6 separate regions of the Homo sapiens genome follow, and regions 1, 2, 3, 5 and 6 are each linked to region 4. The links are contacts of gene promoters, found by promoter capture Hi-C in human tissues and cell types (Jung and others, 2019). All regions are on one chromosome and are shown on one strand. Each heading gives the region's core, a stretch centred on a gene start or on the middle of the fragment in contact. The rest is flanking DNA. Distances are from core to core; before and after follow the strand shown. Region 1 has its middle 73 kb from the start of KCNJ6. Region 2 overlaps KCNJ6 (potassium inwardly rectifying channel subfamily J member 6). Region 3 has its middle 23 kb from the start of LINC01423. Region 4 holds the start of DSCR4 (Down syndrome critical region 4). Region 5 has its middle 57 kb from the start of KCNJ6. Region 6 has its middle 40 kb from the start of KCNJ6.

Region 1 (3,374 bases), core at 284-2,783, 130 kb after region 4:
AACAACAACTAACTAAACAAAAAGCTACAGATCTGATTCTCCTGGTATGTGAAGAATCTTTGGTGGCTGGGGCTTTTTACAGGAACCCAGAAATCGGGGGGTGGGAGGAAGAGGGATTATGTCCCCACAGCCACCTTCCTACTTTCAGACACTGTCATTTGAGGACAGCCATCTGGCAGACATGGGGGACAATGTTCCTGGCACTCTGAGGTTGACAGAGGAGAAAGATGCTAAACTCCAGCCTTATAAGCATCTCTGATCCACTGAACCGCTTTTCTTCAAACTTCTCCTACCAGAGATAGTAAATATCCTTACTTGTTGAAACCACATTTAGTTGGATTTTTTATCTACAGCCAAAAAGCATCCTAATTCATATAAAATTACGGGAGAATCTTCTTGTTCTCCTTCCTTTCTTCTTTCTTTTTCTTTTCTTTCTCCTTCCTTCCTTCCTTCCTCTTTCTCTTTTAAATTAATGAGTGCTAATGGAATTAATAAATCATTTGATCTCTGTGAAAAACATCACTGAAAGTGGATGTCCAAGACAGTTTGTGACTTAAGGAGGGTCCTAGGTCACAGGGGGCCGGAACTCAGAGGTGAGTCAGGGGAGTGCACAATGGCTAGCAGACTCACACCTCCTCTGAGGCCACTGAGAACAGCAAAGGAAACAAAAAGTGGGCTTTGCCCTGCCTCCATTTGGCTAACCCTCACTTTCTGAGATTAGCTCTCAGGGACCCAGGCAGGCCAAACCTTCTCGCAGAGCAGACTTGCCCTCAAACCATGGTAAGCATGTGCTAACAGGTGCCTCCACCTGCTGAGTACTTCAGTGCTAGGCATAAATGCTGAGGGGCTAAGAGTAGGACATGCAGAAAGTCTAAGGATATCAGGGGGCACCTGATGGCATGAACTGATGCCCTTTGCTCTGTCTGCAGCAACAGAGCCAAAGAAGCCAAGAGGAGAGGTACTTGGCATTTCTGATATTTCCTACATGATTTCTCATACTCTGCCAAAGTGTACAGGTAGAAAATAGAGTCAAGAAGCGATTCGAGGCTTTAGTTTTTCATTGGAAGCTAATTTTGGAGTGTATCAACAGCCATCTCTCCAGAAAAACCACCAGAATTACCTGTTAATCAAGCAAAGTGAAGTTTCTTATTAACTGCAGAGAGGGAGGCATGGCTTGCCAGGGTCAAGGGTCCAGGCCTGCTGACCTGGACTCCTCAGTGAGCCTCCCCAGGTATCAGTGGGGTTGTTCTCTCACCGTGTGTTTTAGTTTGCTCCTGCTGCCATAACAAAGTACCACACACGACGTGGCCTGAACAATGGACATTATCTCTCACAGTTCTGGTGGCTGGGAAGTCCAAGGTCCAGGTGCCGACCAATTTGGTTCCTGATGAGGGCTGTCTTTGTGGCTTGCAGAGAGCCACCTTCTTGCTGTGTCCTCACAAGACCTCTCCCCAATGTGTGCACATGGAAAGAGAAAGAGATCTGGCATATTTTTTAAAAATACGCTACTCCTATTGGATCAGGACTCCACCCCAATGACCTCACTTAACCTTAATTACTTCCTTAGAGGTCCCATCTCCAAATACAACCACACTCTATTTGGTTGTATTTTCAGCATATAATACCATGTCTCACTAGAGTATTTTTGCTCCCCCACTTTCTGGTAGTCTGGTTGTTTCTGTCCATGGCCTCTTGAATGGCTGGTGCCTCAACTCCATGACTCTGCACAAGTGCTGGAGCACAGGGTTGGCCCCTGTCTTGGTCCTGTGTTCTGTCTACATTTCCTTGTGAGAACTCCATCCACCATGAGAGAGTGACGGTCTTCCTAACTTCTGGACCACTAACCCACCTCGGAAATACCCTGGAGGAAAACTTGAATTCCAAGTTTCCATTGCCTCTCCTTGGGTCTTTGTGGAAACTGGCACTGGCTCTGTCTCCATTGATTAAAATTCTAGGGAATGGGCATGGGCCATCCTTGATTCATTGTCTAAGGAAGACTTTGGTAGCGTCTGGAGGCCAATTCTGCATCTATCTTTTCAGACATTTCCAGAGGCTCGTCTGTCTTCACATCAATCTGTATTGCACTGGTGAAGTTGCATTCCCAGAGGGAATGTTGCAATGGGCTAAATTATGCCCAAAATGTTGATGTCCTAACCTTCAGAAGCTCAGCATGTGACTGTATTTGGAGATAGAACCTTTAACAAGGTGATTAAGGTGAAATGAGGTCATAAGTGTCACGCCCATCCATGTGAAGAGACCACCAAACAGGCTTGGTGTGAGCAATAAAGCTTTTTAACCACCTGGGTGCAGGCGGGCTGAGTCCGAAAAGAGAGTCAGCAAAGGGAGATGGGGGTGGGGCAGTTTTATAGGATTTGGGTAAGTAGTACAAAATTACAGTCAGAGGGGGTTGTTCTCTGGCGGGCAAGGGCAGGGGTCACAAGGTGCTCAGTGGGGGAGCTTCTGAGACTCATTGTCCAGGAGAAGGAGTTTCACAAGGTAATGCCATCAGTTAAGGCAGGAATGAGCCATTTTCACTTCTTTTGTGGTTCTTCAGTTGGCTCAGGCCATCTGAATATATACATGCAGGCTTGGGCTCAGAGGCCTAACAATAAGGGTGGGCTATAAACCAATCTGTCTAGTGTCCTTATAAGAAGAGGAGATTAGCAGCCGGGTACTGTGGCTCATGCCTGTAATCCCAGCATTTTGGGTGGCCAAGGTGAGCAGATCATGAGGTCAGGAGTTTGAGACCAGCCTGGCCAACATGGTGAAACCCATCTCTACTAAAAATACAAAAAATTAGCCAGGTGTGGTGGCAGGCACCTGTAATCCCAGCTACTCGGGAGGCTGAAGCAGGAGAATCGCTTGAACCCAGTAGGCGGAGGCTGCAGTGAGCCGAGATTGTGCCATTGCACTCTAGCCTGGGCAACAGAGCTAGACTCTGTCAAAAAAAAAAAAGAGGAGATTAGGACACAGACAGATATGCACAGAGGAAAGACCCTGTGAGGACACCAAAAGAAAGTGTCCATCTACAAGCCAAGAGGAGAGAGGCCTCAGGGGAAATCAATTCTGATGACATCTTGATCTCAGACTCCCAGCCTCCAGCCTGAGAAAATACACATCTGTCGTTGAGGCTACCCAGTCTGTGGTATTTTGTTATGGCAGCCCTAGCAAACCAATAAAGATACCAAAGAGCTTCACACAGAGTAGGGAGTGAGAATAAATTGTTGCAAAATAGGCTTTTTCACAAAGAAGGCTTTGGATCACTCGTAACTTTATTGAACATGTATTCTTCCCTATACCTTCTCTAGAAATGATTCTGTTAAATGAGTAAGGAGATGACAGATAGATAGATAGATAGATAGATAGATAGATAG
Region 2 (3,148 bases), core at 503-3,002, 230 kb after region 4:
TGCTCTGGGTTATCTGTCTATAGCATCTCTCTGCCAAAGTGAATCATGGCAACTTGAAAGTGGTTATTTATTGAAGTATTTTAGAAGTCAATTCTACCTTTCTCAATCTTTTTAAAATAAATATTTTCAAATGGAAGGATCAAAGAAATGTCAGCTGCTTCCGTAGAATATAATCCAGAACCCAAGGTAGTATTTGTTGGACAGAAATGTCAAAAAGCATCAACTCCAAATAAGGAAAGGCAGAGGAAAAAAAAAAAAAAAGGCTTCTCCAGCCGTAGGTGAGAGAGGGCACAGGCTGCCATTTATACACACAGTGCTGGAGCCGAGTGCTGTTGCAAGAAGGTATGGACCAAAGAAGTCAACATTTCCCTAGAAAATAGGGGGAACAGGCTGGGCACGGTGGCTCACACCTGTAATCCCAGCACTTTGGGAGGCCAAGGCAGGTGGATCACAAGGTCAGGAGTTCAAGACCAGCCTGGCCAAGATAGTGAAACCCCATCTGTACTAAAAATACAAAAATTAGCTGGGCACGGTGGCAGGTGCCTGTAATCCCAGCTACTTGGGAGGCTGAGGCAGGAGAATTGCTTGGACACAGGTGGCAGAGATTGCAGTGATCCGCGATCACACCACTGTACTCCAGCCTGGGAGATGGCGTGAGACTCCATCTCCAAAAAAAGAAAAAAATAGGGGAACATTCAAAAGGGTACCCAGGAATGTAACATAAGACTATGAAAGAAACCGGCCGGGTGCGGTGGCTCAAGGCTGTAATCCCAGCACTTTGGGAGGCCAAGGCAGGCGGATCACAAGGTTAGGAGATCGAGACCATCCTGGCTAACATGGTGAAACCCCGTCTCTACTAAAAATACAAAAAAAATTAGCTGGCCTGGGTGGCGGGCGCCTGTAGTCCCAGCTACTCGGGAGGCTGAGGCAGGAGAACAGTGTGAACCCGGGAGGTGGAGCTTGCACTGAGCCGAGATCACACCACTGCATTCCAGCCTGGGTGACAGAGCAAGACTCCATCTCAAAAAAAAAAAAAAAACTATGAAAGAAGCCATATGGGGACAAAGAATGCTAAAACTGGGACTTCTCACTCTCCTGTATAGTGATTTCTTCTTAAAAACTCCTCAGTGAAAAGATTTTACCTCATTGCCAGGGTCAACAGTGGACAACCTGGGGTTGCCATAGACATCCTAAGCCCTATGCCCATTCTGCACCCCTTTTCCCAACTTGCCTCCCCATCTTTGCCCAACCTTAAGTCTCTACCATTGCCTTCACCCTGTTGCCTCACTTATACTAAAGTGCAAATGACCCAGCAGGGACCTAAGTGAGCAGCCTGTCTTCTCAATACATTTTGCCCAAAGGTATCCCAAATTTCCCAACCCAGTCAGAGCCACCAGATTTTTTTACAGCTGTATTTTCTAAACTAATAAACAAGAAATATAGCCAGATACTAACAGTCATTAAACCTGGAGGTCAGAGCATAGAAATTCCATATAATTTCCTGAATGCTTGAAATATTTTGTAATAACTATTAAAAACTGAGGTAGGTGACTTTACGATCAGCCAGGACCACATCAGTGCTGTTCCTGCAGAAGAAATGGCTGTGCCCAGGGCTCCCTCTCACTCTTACTGCTGTATTGGGATGCCCCATTTGACCTGAAATGATTCAACGCCCTGTCTGCACATTTGCATCTCCTGAAGAGCTCCTCACTCTAAAACCCTAGACTGATTAAATCAGAATTACAATGGGGAACAGTCTCTGCACTGGTATGTTTCAAAAGCTCCCACATGGTTGTAGCAGGCAGCCAGGGTTGAGAACCATTGATTTAAAGAAGAATCACAAGAATGCTTTAAAAAGATACCTGCAAATTCTTCAGTGTTTAAGCTCCCAACATGAAAATCTTTGTCTTCTTATTGCCAAGAATCATCTGAGAGTCATGTGATGCGTGTCTCCACCCCCACCATCCCACACCCCTTCCCCATCCCACACTTGAGACCATCAACCCACACCCAGCCCAGCACCACCACAACTGCCGCCAGCATCAGCACCAATGTCCTTGCTACCTCCAACAGGAACAGCAGCTGCAAGAAGAAAGAGTGAAATGCAGAGCTGAGGCCCTTATCTCAAATGATCGACTTTGGCACTTGGATATTCAAGCCTTTAAAATTTATATATGAGGGGGTCACTGAGAGGGCTTGGTATCTGGTAGTTCAAACACTTGCAACCTGGGCCCCCTAGGTTCAGCTGGGTCTAAGAAAGCCTGGAAATGTTCTCACCCAAACAGCCTACAAGTACTCAATTCATAAATCCCCTGTTACACAAATTAAAATACATATTAAGGGATTTTTTTAACTTTGTAGATTTTAGGGACACATTTCTAAGCAGTGCTTAATCATCCATGGTTTTCTAGCTAGTCGGAACCATTCATAGATATGAGGCAAAATTTTGATCTCTATATAAAATTATTCTCACTACACCTAAAATGACATCGTGTACAGTGCAGAGTGTACATGCCTGTGTCCGTGCATGTGTGCCTGTGTGTTTGTCTATGCGTGTCTGTGTTCGTATCTGTCTCTGTGTCTATGTGTGCATGTTTATGTGTGTCTGTACCTGTCTCTGTGTGTGTGTCTTTGCCTGTGTGTGTCTGTGTGTGGTTCCCCTAACCTGCCTTTGCAAAACCTGCTCACCTTTCATCCATCCAGCACACAGCTGAGAGGCCCACCTGTGAAAGTATCCTATGAAAGCAAGGAGGAAAGCCCGTCCCCTATGCCTTCCCTGCTTCCCAGTCCTTCTGTCACTCACCTTTCTGAGATAGGTAGGTGAGCATCGTACAGTTAGATTCAGGAGATCAGAGTAAACCCTCAGGATCCCTTGTGTTTAACTTTAGGGAGAAATTTCCAGAATTTATAACCTGACTTTCAATGCGCAATATTTTACAGGAAAGATTTTTATTAAGGTTGCCCCCATGTGCCATCTTGCCAGATTCGATTCTGTAAAGGTTTTTGGAAACCCACAGTAGGCTACAGCTTCACTGGGGCTTGTTTTGTTTGTTGGCTGCTTGCTTGGATGCGGGGGAGGCGGGCAGAGTCAGAGGCAGTGTTCTCCTGAATTGTACCGATGTGATGCACTCCCCATGTCTGTGGGACT
Region 3 (3,440 bases), core at 767-3,266, 200 kb before region 4:
ATTCAATTAATTAAAAAATACCAGCAAGGTGCTTTTTATTTAGTGCACACTTATATAGGCACTATGAATATAGGAGGAAAGATGAAAAATTCCAGCCTTCACAAAGCCAATATTTCCAGTGTTACTGCCATTCCCTGCCATGGGCTAAGATCAAGATCAGCTTCATTTGCACAGGTTTTATGCAAAGGGAAGAATTTCTCTTTCTGTAGGATCTATCTTATCCTCCTCTGCAAACTCCCAGGGTTTCTATCAGCAATTAGCACACTATGTAGCGCCAGGCAAGCTGGGAGGTTGGGAGGAGGGGGCTATGTCAGAGGACAATGCCGGAACTCACCTCCCTATACAGCCAGGGCAAGCCTGGTTACGGCACAATGTCCTGTTTCATGAGAGTTCATTTCCTCTGCATCATGTCTATGCACAGAGGTAAGCAACCAGGAATTTCTCTGTGCTCCCTGTAGAAAATCCCCATCTCAAATTACCTTGGCATCTCCATATGCAGATGCTTGTCAGGGGCCCAGTCCAGGCTGCTTGAATAGAATTGGCTGGGTTCCCTTCATCCGCTGTTGCGATTAAGGAATAATGTAAGATAGGAGCAGTCACACCATTACACTCTATTAGCCTGATTTATGTTGGGTCACTGAACCCCCCACCTTAGGTGCCACCCACCATTCTACCCCCTTAGCTACCTACAAACCCACTCTGGGGTAATGGGGTGTACCCACTCTGGGGTAGTTTAAAATCTGTTCACAAATTCTTTGAAACCCTCTTGAAAAGCTGTAACCTATTCTCCTCTTCTTGAGTGTGGCTAGACTGAGTGACTTACTGTTAATGAATAGGTGGGGGAGGAAGCAACATGAGATACTAGGCAATAAAAGATTCTGTGGTTTCCTGTTTGCTTTCTCTCTTGGATTACTCTGTCTGAATGATGCTAGCTTCCCTTGCCTGAGAATCGTTACAAAGAGGAGCATCTGATGAGGAAATGAGAACTCCAGCCAGAAACCAGCAATAAATTGAGGGCTCCTATATGAGCAATGCATTCTCCAGCCCCAATCAAGCCTTTGGATAACTGCAGCTCCTGCCAGCATTTTGACTGCACTTCATGAAACACTTTGAGTCAGAGCCACCTACCTAAGCCACTCCAAAATTCCTGACCGTCAAAAACTTTGAGATAATAAATGCTTGTTGTTTTAAACTACTACCTCTTAAGGTAGTTTTTAATATAGCAGTAGATTACTAATATAAGGCACTACTATATTCTCAAAAACTTCTGAGAATCTTACCCCAAACCACCAGCTTTATTACTATCAGGGTATCATAATGACAGGTTGTAAGTTTACAACCTGTATTAGTCTAGTTAACGCTTGTGTTAATCAGGCTAGTTAACACTAGCCACTGTAACAAACAAGACCCCCCACCCTCGCCCCCGCCAAATCACAGTGGTTTTACAGAGTAAAAGCTCAGTTCTCCTTTGTGAGAAGTCCAGTTTAGCTAAAACATCTGGGCAAATTGTAGACCAAGATCTCTGAGGAGGGGAGGGAGGAATGGAAGAATTGACTATCTTGGTCAGAAAATGCCACACATCATTCATGCCCACACCCTGTTGGCCCAGATCAATCACTGCCACCAACCTAACTACCTGGAAGGCTGCTGGGAAATGTGGGGGAGTCCCAGGAATATTTGACAACTCCTATTGTCACTGCCACACAACCCTACTTGGGTTTTCTAATTTAAAAGCCAGAAAATACATGGCTTTAAAGAGATATGTAATCCATGTTTGTGCTTCCTGCACCAGCCTGGGGATTTAAATGAGAAGCATATTCATCGTAATAAACATTATTCTTCAGATTGTATCAATAATTATTATTGCTCCCTGTCAAATCCCCATCTTAAATTGCTTTTCTGGGAATCCCCAGGGAATGTCTCCTGGGCATTTGAGACAAACGTAATCAGATACCACAAGGAGTTGCCTTTTCCTTCTTCTCTCCTTTTGGGCAGTGTCCATTGCTGCACTCTCTGCCAATGACACTATGAGCAGAAGTCTGCCTGTCGGTGATGAGCAAGCACTGTGCTTCCAGCACAATACAAACAGACTGAGCTCCCTGAGAGATGGGATGACTGCGTCTCTCCCGCTTGTGTCTTACTTGGTCCTCTGGAACCGAAAGCTAAGCTTTAAGTAGAAACAGCTCTTCAGGGCTCACACATAAGTCTGTGGTCAGAGTCATTCTCTAAAACAAAGATGGCGCTGGGCACTCACTCCACCGCCTGCTCCCACCCACCCTCTGTGGTGCATTTCTTCCACCCTCTCCTCTTGCCATCCCTCCACTCATGAGCATCCTATAAGCACCTTTATCACAAGTCTTATAAAGAGAAAAGACATCTGAAGAATGGTGGAGTTCATGCTGGTGGATGATACAAGAATGCTATAGTTCTGCGTCATTAGATTTATGGCTGCTAGGAATACACTGCCTGGCTATTAGAGATGAGAAGCTATTTTAAATTATGTTGTATTTTTCAGCCTTTCCTCAAGCTTGTCCTTATTGAACTTTCCCACCTTTCCCCTCACTTTTCAAGAGATTTTCAAATATACTCGTTGAGCACATTGTGACTGCACACCTAACATGTGCGTAATTCTGGGACATAGAACTCCCTAAAAGTGTGAACTTCCACCTGAACCCACCTTCTCTTTTGTAGGATTTTCCAAACTTCCCCATTGTTTCCTTTCCTAAATAAAATAGTTTGGAAAAAAAAGTTATAAATATTTCTCAGACTTCCTGGAAATTTTATTTAGCATTTTGATAAGTGAAGTGTAAAGAAGTTGAAATATGCAGATCAAATTTCCGTTAAAATACACGAACCCTCATATGAATGAGAGGAAACGTGCTTTGCAAAACCATGGTTTTGGTTTTTCTGAACCAAAGATACTTGAAAAAAATAGTTTGAGACATTCAGCAATTCCACAGTGTGGCTGGGCTCACCCATCCCTAATTTCAAGGGACATTAAATCCATCTGTTTCTCATTCATTGATTCTCAGCTCACCAAAATGCTATTTGGCAAATGTGATGGGACGTCCAGGAAGCTGTGCAGGCTGTTTTTAAGCCATGTTGTTCTCAACTGCGAAGTGGGCTTGGCCAACGTTCCCTTGGATCAGCTTCTTTATCTTCGATATGGTACTTGCAAAGTCCTATCGGATTTGAAACTCTCTGAAGTCAACTTATAGATATATAAGGGCTCTGGCAGCTCAATGGGTCCAGTCCCCTGCCTCAGGGTGGATTTATATCCGAGTTGTTGTGACTCCAGTTTAGTTTTGTCTTCATTGCTCACCTGTTCTTGTGATCAACAACTTTCCTGCTCAGGAAACTCCTCCTTATATCTCTCCTGAAAGGCTCCTGTACTGTAGTGGACACTGTTAATGCATCATGCAGCTCTCCTAGGAGAGCCT
Region 4 (3,175 bases), core at 487-2,986:
TTGATCTTCTGCCCTCTGTGCTTCTGGTTCTCAGGCCTTTAGACCTGGGCTGCAATCTATACCATCGGCCCTCCAGCTCTTAGGCCTTTGACTTTCATCAGCTTTCCTGGGTCTCCAGCTTGCAGAGAGCAGATCATGGGGCTTCTCAGCCTCCACAATCACATGAACCAGTACCTGATAATAAATTGGTTCTGGTTTTTCCAGAGAACCCTGATTAATATACTATCTGTGCATTCACTTAGGAGAAACAAAGTCATTAAATGTGAAAAAAAAAAAAGAACTGAGTCACTCAGAAGAATCATACTATAGTTGCCCATCATATATTATAAAGAACAAAGTATTCTAAATTATTTACGAATAAGAATTCTATAAAGAAAATGACTGATTATCTGCGCTTACACAAAATATTTCATGGAAATTTTATTACCGTGCTCTTTTTTTTTTTTAATTTAACCATCATTATGTTGTGCATTCATCATCTGGAGTTTTTAGTTGTTTAGAATTCCCTGTTGGCAGCCAAATTCCTGTCTGGGAAAATGTATGAGCCAGCCTTCATTTTCCACGATGACTTTCCAAGGAACCATTACAATTAAGAGAATGTAAGTTACTCATCTCCAATAACTGTACATGAAGCAATATTCCGAGGATTTGTTAACTGTCTTTGACAGGAGATCATCTACTCACAGTAGGTGCTTAACAAATGCCATCTTGAATGAATGAAGACCCTTTCTCACAGTAACAAAGTTGGGTCCAGGCTCCTTCATTTTTGCTCAGCAAGATGAAGCTAAGGAAACAGGAAATAAGTCATCAACCAAATCATAGTAACAAATCGTTCTATTCCATTCTCCATAATTCACCCTTCAGTCCAGGGGAACACTAACAATTGCCCCTCCAGATACAAAGAAATTGCCTCCTCTGAAGACAGCTGCCTCACCTAAGGCCACATTTCCTTCCAGGTTGCCCCACTTCCAATGAGTCACTGATTGGCAATCCATAAAGGTCAGCTCTCTTGCCTCAACTCAGCATACCTCTGACAGATCGTCCCATCTTCCCGTCTCCCTTGAGGTTTGACTGGGGTTGCTGCTGACCCAGTGATATAGGAGTTAAGAAGAAAGTACTTAGGCAGATAGTGAAGGTATGGGAGTCCTCAGTAAGGTCTTCCTTTTAATGAAAAGCAGCCCCCAAATCATTTTCTTTTCTAACAAAAAGCAACCTGGAAAATCGAGCTGCAGACACAGACAAGCAAGCTGAAAGCTTGCACAGGCAAATACCGGCAGTTGTGCCAATAAAAATATACTACCTGGGGCCGGCGCTGTGGCTCACGCCTGTAATCCCAGCTACTCAGGAGGCTGAGGCAGGAGAATCGCCTGAACTTAGGAGGCGGAGGCTGTGGTGAGCCAAGATGGCGCCATTGCACTCCAGCCTGGGCAACAAGAGCGAAACTCCGACTCAAAAAGCGACAACAGCAGCAACAACAACAACAAAAAACACTACCTGGGATTAGGCATGTTCTAAATGGCAGCTCCATCTTCTCTTTTTGCCACCCATGTTTACAGAAACGAGTGGACAAGACGGCCCCTGCCAAGTGGGAAGCCTATTTGCATAACAAGATTAGGGTGGGGTGACCAGCCTTCCCTGCGCGCTACGTAAACGTCACCCCTGGTCGAACCAATCTCTGGGCTCCACGTAAATCAGACACCGCCTCCTCAAGCCTGCCCGTAAAACCTGCTGCCGTCAGTCACGGGCCAGCCTTTCCCTTAAGGATGTCTGAGAGCTGGTCTCCTCACTCTTTTCTTCCGCCTATTAAACTTTCCGCTTCTTAACTCACCCATGTGTGTCCATGTCGTTAATCATCTTGACGAGAGATGATGAACCCCGGATATTTACCCCAGACAGTGATGCCGCTTCACCAGCATTGCACTCTACTTCCCCGCTTCCTGATCCTGCCTCAGCTTCTCCTCTCCACAGGTATTGATCCCAAGAACAACCCGTAAGAAATGTCCTGCACGCTAATCTCCATCTCAGAGTCAGCTTCCCAGGGAATCCAGCAATTACGAAGCATTCAGCTTAATTTTGTTGATTGCTTTATGATTTTGTGTGTGTGTGTGTGTTTTAATGTTGAAATGTAACATATATTCAAAAGTGTGGATAAAGTCTCCATGACGATTAGTTTCCTGTGTCATCATGGGGGCCAGGCTTTAGTGCCTTTTTTTTTTTTTTTTTTTTTTTTTTTTTGTGGTGAGACAGAGTTTTGCTCTTGTCACCCAGACTGGAATGCAGTGGCGCGATCTCGGTTCACTACAACCTCCTGGGTTCAAGTGATTCTCCTGCTTCAGCCTCCCAAGTAGCTGGGATTACAGGTGCCCGCCACCAAGCCAGGCTAATTTTTGTATTTTTAGTACGGATGGGGTTTCACCATGTTGGCCAGGCTGGTCTTGAACTCCTGACCTCAAGTGATCTTCCTGCCTCGGCCTCCCAAAGTGCTGGGATTACAGGCGTGAGCCACTGCACCCGGCCTTTACTGCCCATTTATTTAATCAAACACTAATCTAGGTAGTGCTGCAAAGGTATTTTGTAGATGTAGTTAACATCTACAATCAGTTGGCTTTACATAAATCTTACTTTTCATACTGTGAATGGGCCTTATACAATCAGAAGCCTTAAGAGCAAAAACTGAATTTTCCTAGAGAAGAAAAAATTCTGCCTAAAGTCTGCAACATCGTTTCCTGCCTGAGTTTCAGCCTGCCAGCTTCTCCTACGGATTCTGGACTTGCCAGCCCCACAATCATGTAAGCCAATATGCTAAAATAAATTTCTTAATATAATTCTTAATGTATATATCCTTTTGATTCTGTTTTTCTGGAGAAATCTGGCTTATACAGGCTCTTAACATGATTGTTTATCTGTCAATTTTTATTTTATGGCTATGTTATTAGGTATAAACAAATTTACGATTATTTCATATTAAACCTGAAACGTTGATTATTCTGAAACGAGCCAGTCTTTGCTTTGGTTTTGTAACTTTTGCTTTGCATAGTAGTTTTACCATCCCTTACTTACTTTCAACCTGTCGATATCTTTATATTTAAAGTAAGCAGCTTGTTTAGCTTTGCTTGATATTATTACCTTCTCTGATGAGCTTTATATTTCAATTTCAATATTTAGTCTGTTTATA
Region 5 (3,308 bases), core at 650-3,149, 150 kb after region 4:
GGAAAGGGGGATTCTCTCTTTCTCTGCCTAACTGCTTGAGCTAGGACATACATCTCCTGCCCTCAGACCCAGACCGGGACTTGCACCACTGACCTTTCTGGTTCTGGGCCTCCTATGCTGGGAATTACAGCACTGGCTCCCTGGTTCTTAAGTCTTTGAGCTTGGATTGGTACCTACATCACTGGCTTTTCTGGAGAAGATGGTGCTGTCCAGGGCCTTCCAGTCTCCAGGGAGTTGATGTTTACTGGTCAGGGATGGTTTGGGAGAGAAGACGTATTTGCCATCTTAACTTTGCTGCAAAACCCTCTTGCTATGGATGAGGCTCCAGGGAGAGAAAATGCTTACACACAGCCACCCAGCCAGGTCAGGAATGACTAATTCCACACTCCAAATCCAATGCTTTTCCCCATAACACTAAACTGTCACCTACGTAAAAACATGAATCACCGCATATTAGTGGTTTAACAGTGGCTGTGGGTGGTAAATGTCTTGACCTCGAGGAGTACCTGTGACATGAGGCAACTCAGCAGAGGTGAGAATGGGGATCTCAGGCCACCGTTTCAGGACCGCTCCTCCCTCACTTTGTAGGGCCTGCGCTGTACCTACCTGAGCCTGGTAGCAGAAGGAGCACCTCTCTCCATAGCCAGCGTTGAAGGGTTCCCATGGTCTCCCAGAAGGCACAAAGATAGGCTCTTAACTAAATCAAACTCACCTTAGGTAAGTCTACCTGGACTGTGGTGGTTAGTTATATATCAATTTGACTGGGTCACGAGATGCCCAGATATCTGGCTAAACATTATTTCTAGGTGTGTCTGTGAGGGTGTCTCTGGAAGAAATTAGCATTTGAATTCATGAGCTGAGTGAAGCAGATGGCCCTCTTCAATGTGGGTCAGCATTATCCCATCTGCTGCAGGCCTGGATAGCACAAAAAAGTGGAGGAAAGGGGGATTCTCTCTCTCCCTTTCTCTGTCTAACTGCTTGAGCTAGGACATAAGTCCCCTGCCCTCAGACCCAGACCAGGTCTTGCACCATTGACCTTTCTAGTTTTCAGACCTGATTGGTGGGAATCACAGCACTGGCTCCCTGGTTCTCAGGCCTTTGGGCTTGGATTGGAACTTACATCACTGGCCTCCCTGGGCCTCTGGCCTGCGGAGGGCAGATTACAAAATGTCTCAGCCTCCACAATCACGTGAGTCAATGCCTCTGTATAAATATCTTTCTTTCTCGCGTTCTCTTTGTATGTGTGTTTGTGTGTGTGTGTGTATATACATATATGTGTGCATGTGTCTCTTTATATGTGTGTGTGTATATATATATCCTATTGATTATTTTTCTCTGGAGAACCCAGACAAATACATGGATCAATGGTGATTTCTAACATGGAAGTAGCCATCCTGATGTGGCTTATTTTGGTCTGTGAATAGGGAGAGGGCCTTCTCCTCTCATGGGTCGAGCACACACTCAAGGAGGCTGTCTTCAGGCCAAGGTCACCCTTGTGAACACTGATTGGTATGAAGAAGAGGTGAACACAGGTGTGATGGAACCAACGTCTTTGTTCCCACCTAATAGCTACCTGCCTTCTCTTCCAGTTTGGGAGGGTGACGTGCCAGGTCCTGATAGGAAGGCAAAAGTGGCTCACCTCAGCTGCTCTACCAAGTACCCCACAGAGGGTAAGGAGGTTTCCAAACCAAAAAGTTTTGCCCACCCATAGTTTTTGGTTAAACCTCATGAAACTGCCAAAATTTAAATTTCTTGACTTAGAAAAATGGTAATTCTGTGGGGTTCAATCTAATAATAACTGCTATTTATTGAGCACTATGCTAAAAGCTTGCTTGTATTATCACATTTAATCCTCAAAACAGTCGTAAGTGTTAGCAACAGACATTGTTATCTTTCTTACAAATAAGGGATTGAGGCACAGAGAACTTAGATAACTTACCCCAAATAAATCATGCAGCCAACAGTTAGCAGCCTGACTCGGGCACCCACATTAGCTGCCATCTCTCAAGAAGCATGAGGACCCCTCACTAAGCAGAGGAGAGACCAGGAGACACTAGAAAGGCCATTGGACAAAATCAGAATGACAAATGGGAATTCTCATTTTCACTACACAGAGGTGTGAGAGTCCATCCCCGCCTGTTGCAAGCTTGGCAGGGGAACAGGAGAGAGAATACCTGCAGGTGCCTTGTCAAAGGAAGATGAGAACGACGCTGTGGAGGGGAAAGGGCAAGGGCCTGCCATGTCCTGAGTGATGGGAGCTGGAGGTAGCCGCCACCATCTGTGGTCTTGACCCATATGCAGTGAAGCACAGGACCTGACAATACCAATGGGCTTTGTGGCCTGTGGACCTGGGCACTATCACCCTGCTGCTTCCTGGTGGAGAAGTCTGTGAAATGCCCGTCCATAGAGGGAGGCTGCTCAGGGAGACGCCTCTGCATTGCAGAGCACAGGGTCTCCTCTCATTTCCCTCTGGCCGCCCTCCGTGATGCCAGAATATAGCCATTGTCTGGCACAAAGCAGGTATTTAATGGAGGAACATTCTCTAGTTTAAGAAAAGTGCACTGTGGCAGCCTCTGGAACACACCTGGCAGACTCCAACTACAGAGAACACCACCCACTGAGGGCTCAAGATGTGGTGCTTTGAAATCCATCATAGCTGCATTTGCAGGAGGACTTGCATCCCCAGGGCTGCTCCCAGCGAATGACTGTTTTAGGTCACTAAGGCAGACACAGGGGCCCCCAACACCCTGAGGACCCTCCAGAGACTGCAGCAGGCAGTCCAACGTGCCTTCTCTCAGCCTCCCCTCCTTCTCTCTTGACATGGAGTCAGATTTGCATCAAGGCTTAATGGCCCTCCTGGCCTTCCCTGGTTCCCTCTTTATCTTCCCTCATGTGATAGTTTCTCCTAACAAAATGCAGGCAAGTTTAATCCCATCTCAACACATGCTTCCCGGAGGACCCTGACTAATAAATAAGCTGACATGGCATGCCAGGAGATCCTGGGCCGAATTGCCTTTATGATTCTCAAGCTTTCTAATCTTTGCTACACAAATAGTGATGGCTTCCCTCTTTCTTCGGGGAAACTGCTGTAATCAGCAAATTGTCACTGTTGTACTGAAGTGACCCTGAGATATGAGTCCTTTCCCTGGAAGGTAATTTACATGCTCTGATACACGAAAAGCATGTAACACTTCAATGATGCTTAAGGCAAAGGTGCTGAGGTTTTTCTTTAATACTACAGAGCATCTCGTAGGACAGAGAAGGCTCTGCAGTGAGCCTTCTCAAGGGATGAAATGGAACTATGAGAT
Region 6 (3,169 bases), core at 23-2,522, 160 kb after region 4:
CACTTACCTGGTAGTGGTGGATTTTTAACCAGAGCCCATAGTCTCAGGTTAATTAAGTCGTAGTCACTATTCCACCCTCCAATTAATGCCATTTAATTCCCAAATAAATATATTGCAAATTTATAATCATTGTAACACCAGTTACTTGTAATTACAGATTTATAAAACAGAACATCCAGCCATATATTAAGAAAGACATTTTAGAGGGATAAATAAATACACTTCTGGTGAAATGTGTCTGTGGCTTTGTTTAGTTCGTGGTATTTTGGTTTTTTGTTTTTTTTGTTTGTGTTCTGGAACAAAGCAGCTTGTTTCTTTGCTTTTGTTTTTCAACTGGTGTGGGCCAAATTGTAGTCACTTTTAACAGGTCCCTTAACCACCCTGTTCTTTTCCATTTCTCTCTATTTCATTACATGTGGCTGAAATTTATCAACATGGAGCCAGGTGAGAGTCCTTCTGCAAGTCCCTGGCCATGCTGAGTCTTTACAGGCAGCAATAAAGGTTTCTGAACCCGCATCCTGAAAGCAAACAGATAGGTTTACATTGGGGACCAGAGTCCTTCCTCTACTACCAGGAGTCAATTCCTTCTGCTCAAAGGGCCACTGCTGTCCAGGCAGTAGAGTTGCCAGATTTATCAAATAAAAGGGGAGATCAGTTACATTTAAATTTCAGATATCAACAAAGAAAAATTTAGTGTATGTCCCAAATATTGCATGAGACATACTTATACAAAAAAGAATTATTCATCTAAAATTCAAACATAACTTGGTCTCTGTATTTCATCTGGCAGTTCTACCAGGCAGAGATACCCAAGCCTGCACCAAGAATTCCATGGGAGACCTGCAGCCTGTGGTCAGTTCTATTTTTGTTTTTAAACGTATACTAGTTGATTATAAAGGATATTGCAAAGGATACAGACGTGTAGGGCGAGGTATGGGGGCAGGGGCACGGAGCCTCCATGCCCTCCGTGGGTGCTTCAGGGAACTTGTCAGTTCCCAAAAGCAGGAGGGGTCTCGGTAAATATACAGCTTCGCCCTTTCAGGCACCTGGAATAACTGAGCTGGCCAATGACGTCATCTCTTGCTCTGAGACTCTTTAAAAGGGTTGTTAATTTACTACTGGATTTCCCTCAATCTATAACACATTTATTCATTTCTTACCCTCAGCTATTATTCTTTCTTTTTTTTCCATTTGTCATTTACTTTTACCCAAACTTTTCCACCTTTGAAAGGGACATTAACTTCAGCCATTGTGCTGGTCCAGATCGCTGGTAGCAATATCAGCCTAGTGAGTGCCTCTACCTCAGTCTGTTCCCATTCATTCAAGACAGGGTTACACAGATTCCAAACTAGTGAGCCACTTCTACCACCAGGAAATATAGTTGTATTTATTCTTTTATTTTCTTCAAGTTTTATTTTTAAGTTCAGGGGTACATGTGCAGGACGTGCAGGTGTGTTACATAGGTAAACGTGTGCCGTGGTGGTTTGCCGCACAGATCAACCCATCACCTAGGTATTAAGCCCAGCATCCATTAGCTATTGTTCCTGATGCTCTCCCTCCCCACACCCCACCCCTAACAGCCGCCAGTGTGTGTTGTTCCCCCAACCCCATGCGTCCATGTGTTCTCATCATTCAGCTCCCACTTGTAAGCGAGAAGACGCAGTGTTGGTCTTCTGTTCCTGCCTCAGCCATGGTGGAAGACAGTGTGGTGATTCCTTAAAGACCTAGAGGCAGAAATACCATTTGACCCAGCAATCCCATTACTGGGTGTATACCCAAAGGAACAGAAATCATTCTATTATAAAGATACATGCACGTGTATGTGCATTGTATTTAGTCCTAACCCCACTTTTGCCAGACGAGATAAAGACACGGTCCACCCCCAGAATTGTTAGGAATTCTGACAAAGTTTAAAAACACAGTGACAGTTTCTTGCTTAGAAATCATTCCTGCTTCCAGAACTTGCAGTTGCACCTCTGGTTCTAGGACCACCGCATCAGGTAAGGGAGAAAAAAAAAAACAAGACATTTTTCTGAGATGATTTGGGAAAGAAAGAAAAAAAATACATAGTTGTTGTACCAGTGTATTCCTCCCATAGCAAGAATTGCAAGGTCATGCCAGCATCCTCCCCAACCCCTCTTCCCCAGAGCAACCAGGGAAACAGTCAAAAATCTAGTAGGGACACTCCTTTAGTCCCACACGTGTTGAGTGTGAGCACAGACTAGTGAAGGTGTGTAAGGCAGCCTTCATGCTTTTATCTCCCCATGTTTTAGACCAGGGGTCCCCAGCCCCCAGGCTATGGACCATGGCCTGTTAGGAACTGTACTACAGAGCAGGAGGTGAGTGGCGGGTTGAGTGAGCAAAGCTTTATCTGTATTCACTTATATGACCATCTGAGCTCTGCCTCCTATCAGATCAGCAGAAGCATTAGATTCTCATAGGAACGGGAACCCTATTGCAAACTGCTCACGCAAGAGATCTAGGCTGTGTGCTTCTTATGAGAATCTATGCCCGATGATCTGTCACTGTCCCTCATCACCCCCCAGATGGGACCATCTAGTTTCAGGAAAACAAGCTCAGGGCTCTCACTGATTCTACATTATGGTGAGTTGTGTAATTATTTTATTATATATTATAATGCAGTAATAATAGAAATAAAGTGCACAATCAATGGAATGTGCTTGAATCATCCTGAAACCATCCTCCCTCCCCCTGTGATAAAACTGTCTTCCAGGAAACTGGTCCCCAGTGCCAAAAAGTTTGGGGACTGCTGTTTTAGACAACCAGTGTTTCAACTGCCCCTTCTACCCCTCTATCAAACTGTTACTCTAAGGATGATATATCTGCCCTTTGTTGGACGTCAAGGGCTGTTCAGTATACCTTGGTCTGAAGAAATGATGTTTGGCCTTCTAAATCCATGCAATACCTTCTGTTGAGATTTTTTTTTTTTTGGCACTCTGAGCGTTTTCATTTTCCCCCAGGTAAACAAAGCCCAGTCCAGAGTCCGTGTTTATTCCAGGCAAGACCCATTTTTAGTCCCCCAAGGCAGCCAGCATCAGTCCCGCTCGCCAGCTGTGCGCAGGGCCCTCCCACCAGTGAATCTGCCCCATAGCCAGTGGCAGTCTCTGTCTCCCTTGTTGACAAGCAAAGCAGTTCTTCCTGGCATTAT

What was found. Contacts are between HindIII fragments. The study calls those that stand out against the background at their distance.
Region 1: a fragment that was not itself captured here is called in contact with the fragment with the promoter of DSCR4 in region 4 in 3 of the 25 tissues and cell types used here (H1 embryonic stem cells, aorta and mesendoderm cells).
Region 2: a fragment that was not itself captured here is called in contact with the fragment with the promoter of DSCR4 in region 4 in 1 of the 25 tissues and cell types used here (mesendoderm cells).
Region 3: a fragment that was not itself captured here is called in contact with the fragment with the promoter of DSCR4 in region 4 in 2 of the 25 tissues and cell types used here (dorsolateral prefrontal cortex and spleen).
Region 5: a contact is called between a fragment that was not itself captured here and the fragment with the promoter of DSCR4 in region 4, in 4 of the 25 tissues and cell types used here (H1 embryonic stem cells, dorsolateral prefrontal cortex, mesenchymal stem cells and 1 more).
Region 6: a contact is called between a fragment that was not itself captured here and the fragment with the promoter of DSCR4 in region 4, in 4 of the 25 tissues and cell types used here (adrenal gland, aorta, lymphoblastoid cells and 1 more).

The regions. Positions count from the first base shown.
Region 1 is chr21:37,987,513-37,990,886 of GRCh38, reverse strand. No RefSeq gene overlaps it. Among named protein-coding and RNA genes, the nearest start is that of KCNJ6, 73 kb to the right of the region's middle. The HindIII fragment of the contact is 8,084 bases long and covers 1-3,374 here.
Region 2 is chr21:37,890,746-37,893,893 of GRCh38, reverse strand. The region is part of intron 1 of KCNJ6 (potassium inwardly rectifying channel subfamily J member 6); the gene reads left to right. Among named protein-coding and RNA genes, the nearest start is that of KCNJ6, 24 kb to the left of the region's middle. The HindIII fragment of the contact is 3,972 bases long and covers 1-3,148 here.
Region 3 is chr21:38,321,391-38,324,830 of GRCh38, reverse strand. No RefSeq gene overlaps it. Among named protein-coding and RNA genes, the nearest start is that of LINC01423, 23 kb to the left of the region's middle. The HindIII fragment of the contact is 3,414 bases long and covers 310-3,440 here.
Region 4 is chr21:38,119,921-38,123,095 of GRCh38, reverse strand. It overlaps DSCR4 (Down syndrome critical region 4), which reads left to right and starts at 1,736. Exons shown (of 3, transcript NR_147130.1): 1 at 1,736-1,968; 2 at 2,688-2,789. It overlaps DSCR8 (Down syndrome critical region 8), which reads right to left and starts at 1,645. Exons shown (of 3, transcript NR_026842.1): 1 at 1,495-1,645; 2 at 685-784. The HindIII fragment of the contact is 7,375 bases long and covers 153-3,175 here.
Region 5 is chr21:37,971,368-37,974,675 of GRCh38, reverse strand. No RefSeq gene overlaps it. Among named protein-coding and RNA genes, the nearest start is that of KCNJ6, 57 kb to the right of the region's middle. RefSeq lists an enhancer at 198-1,397. The HindIII fragment of the contact is 3,866 bases long and covers 1-3,308 here.
Region 6 is chr21:37,954,878-37,958,046 of GRCh38, reverse strand. No RefSeq gene overlaps it. Among named protein-coding and RNA genes, the nearest start is that of KCNJ6, 40 kb to the right of the region's middle. The HindIII fragment of the contact is 3,856 bases long and covers 1-3,169 here.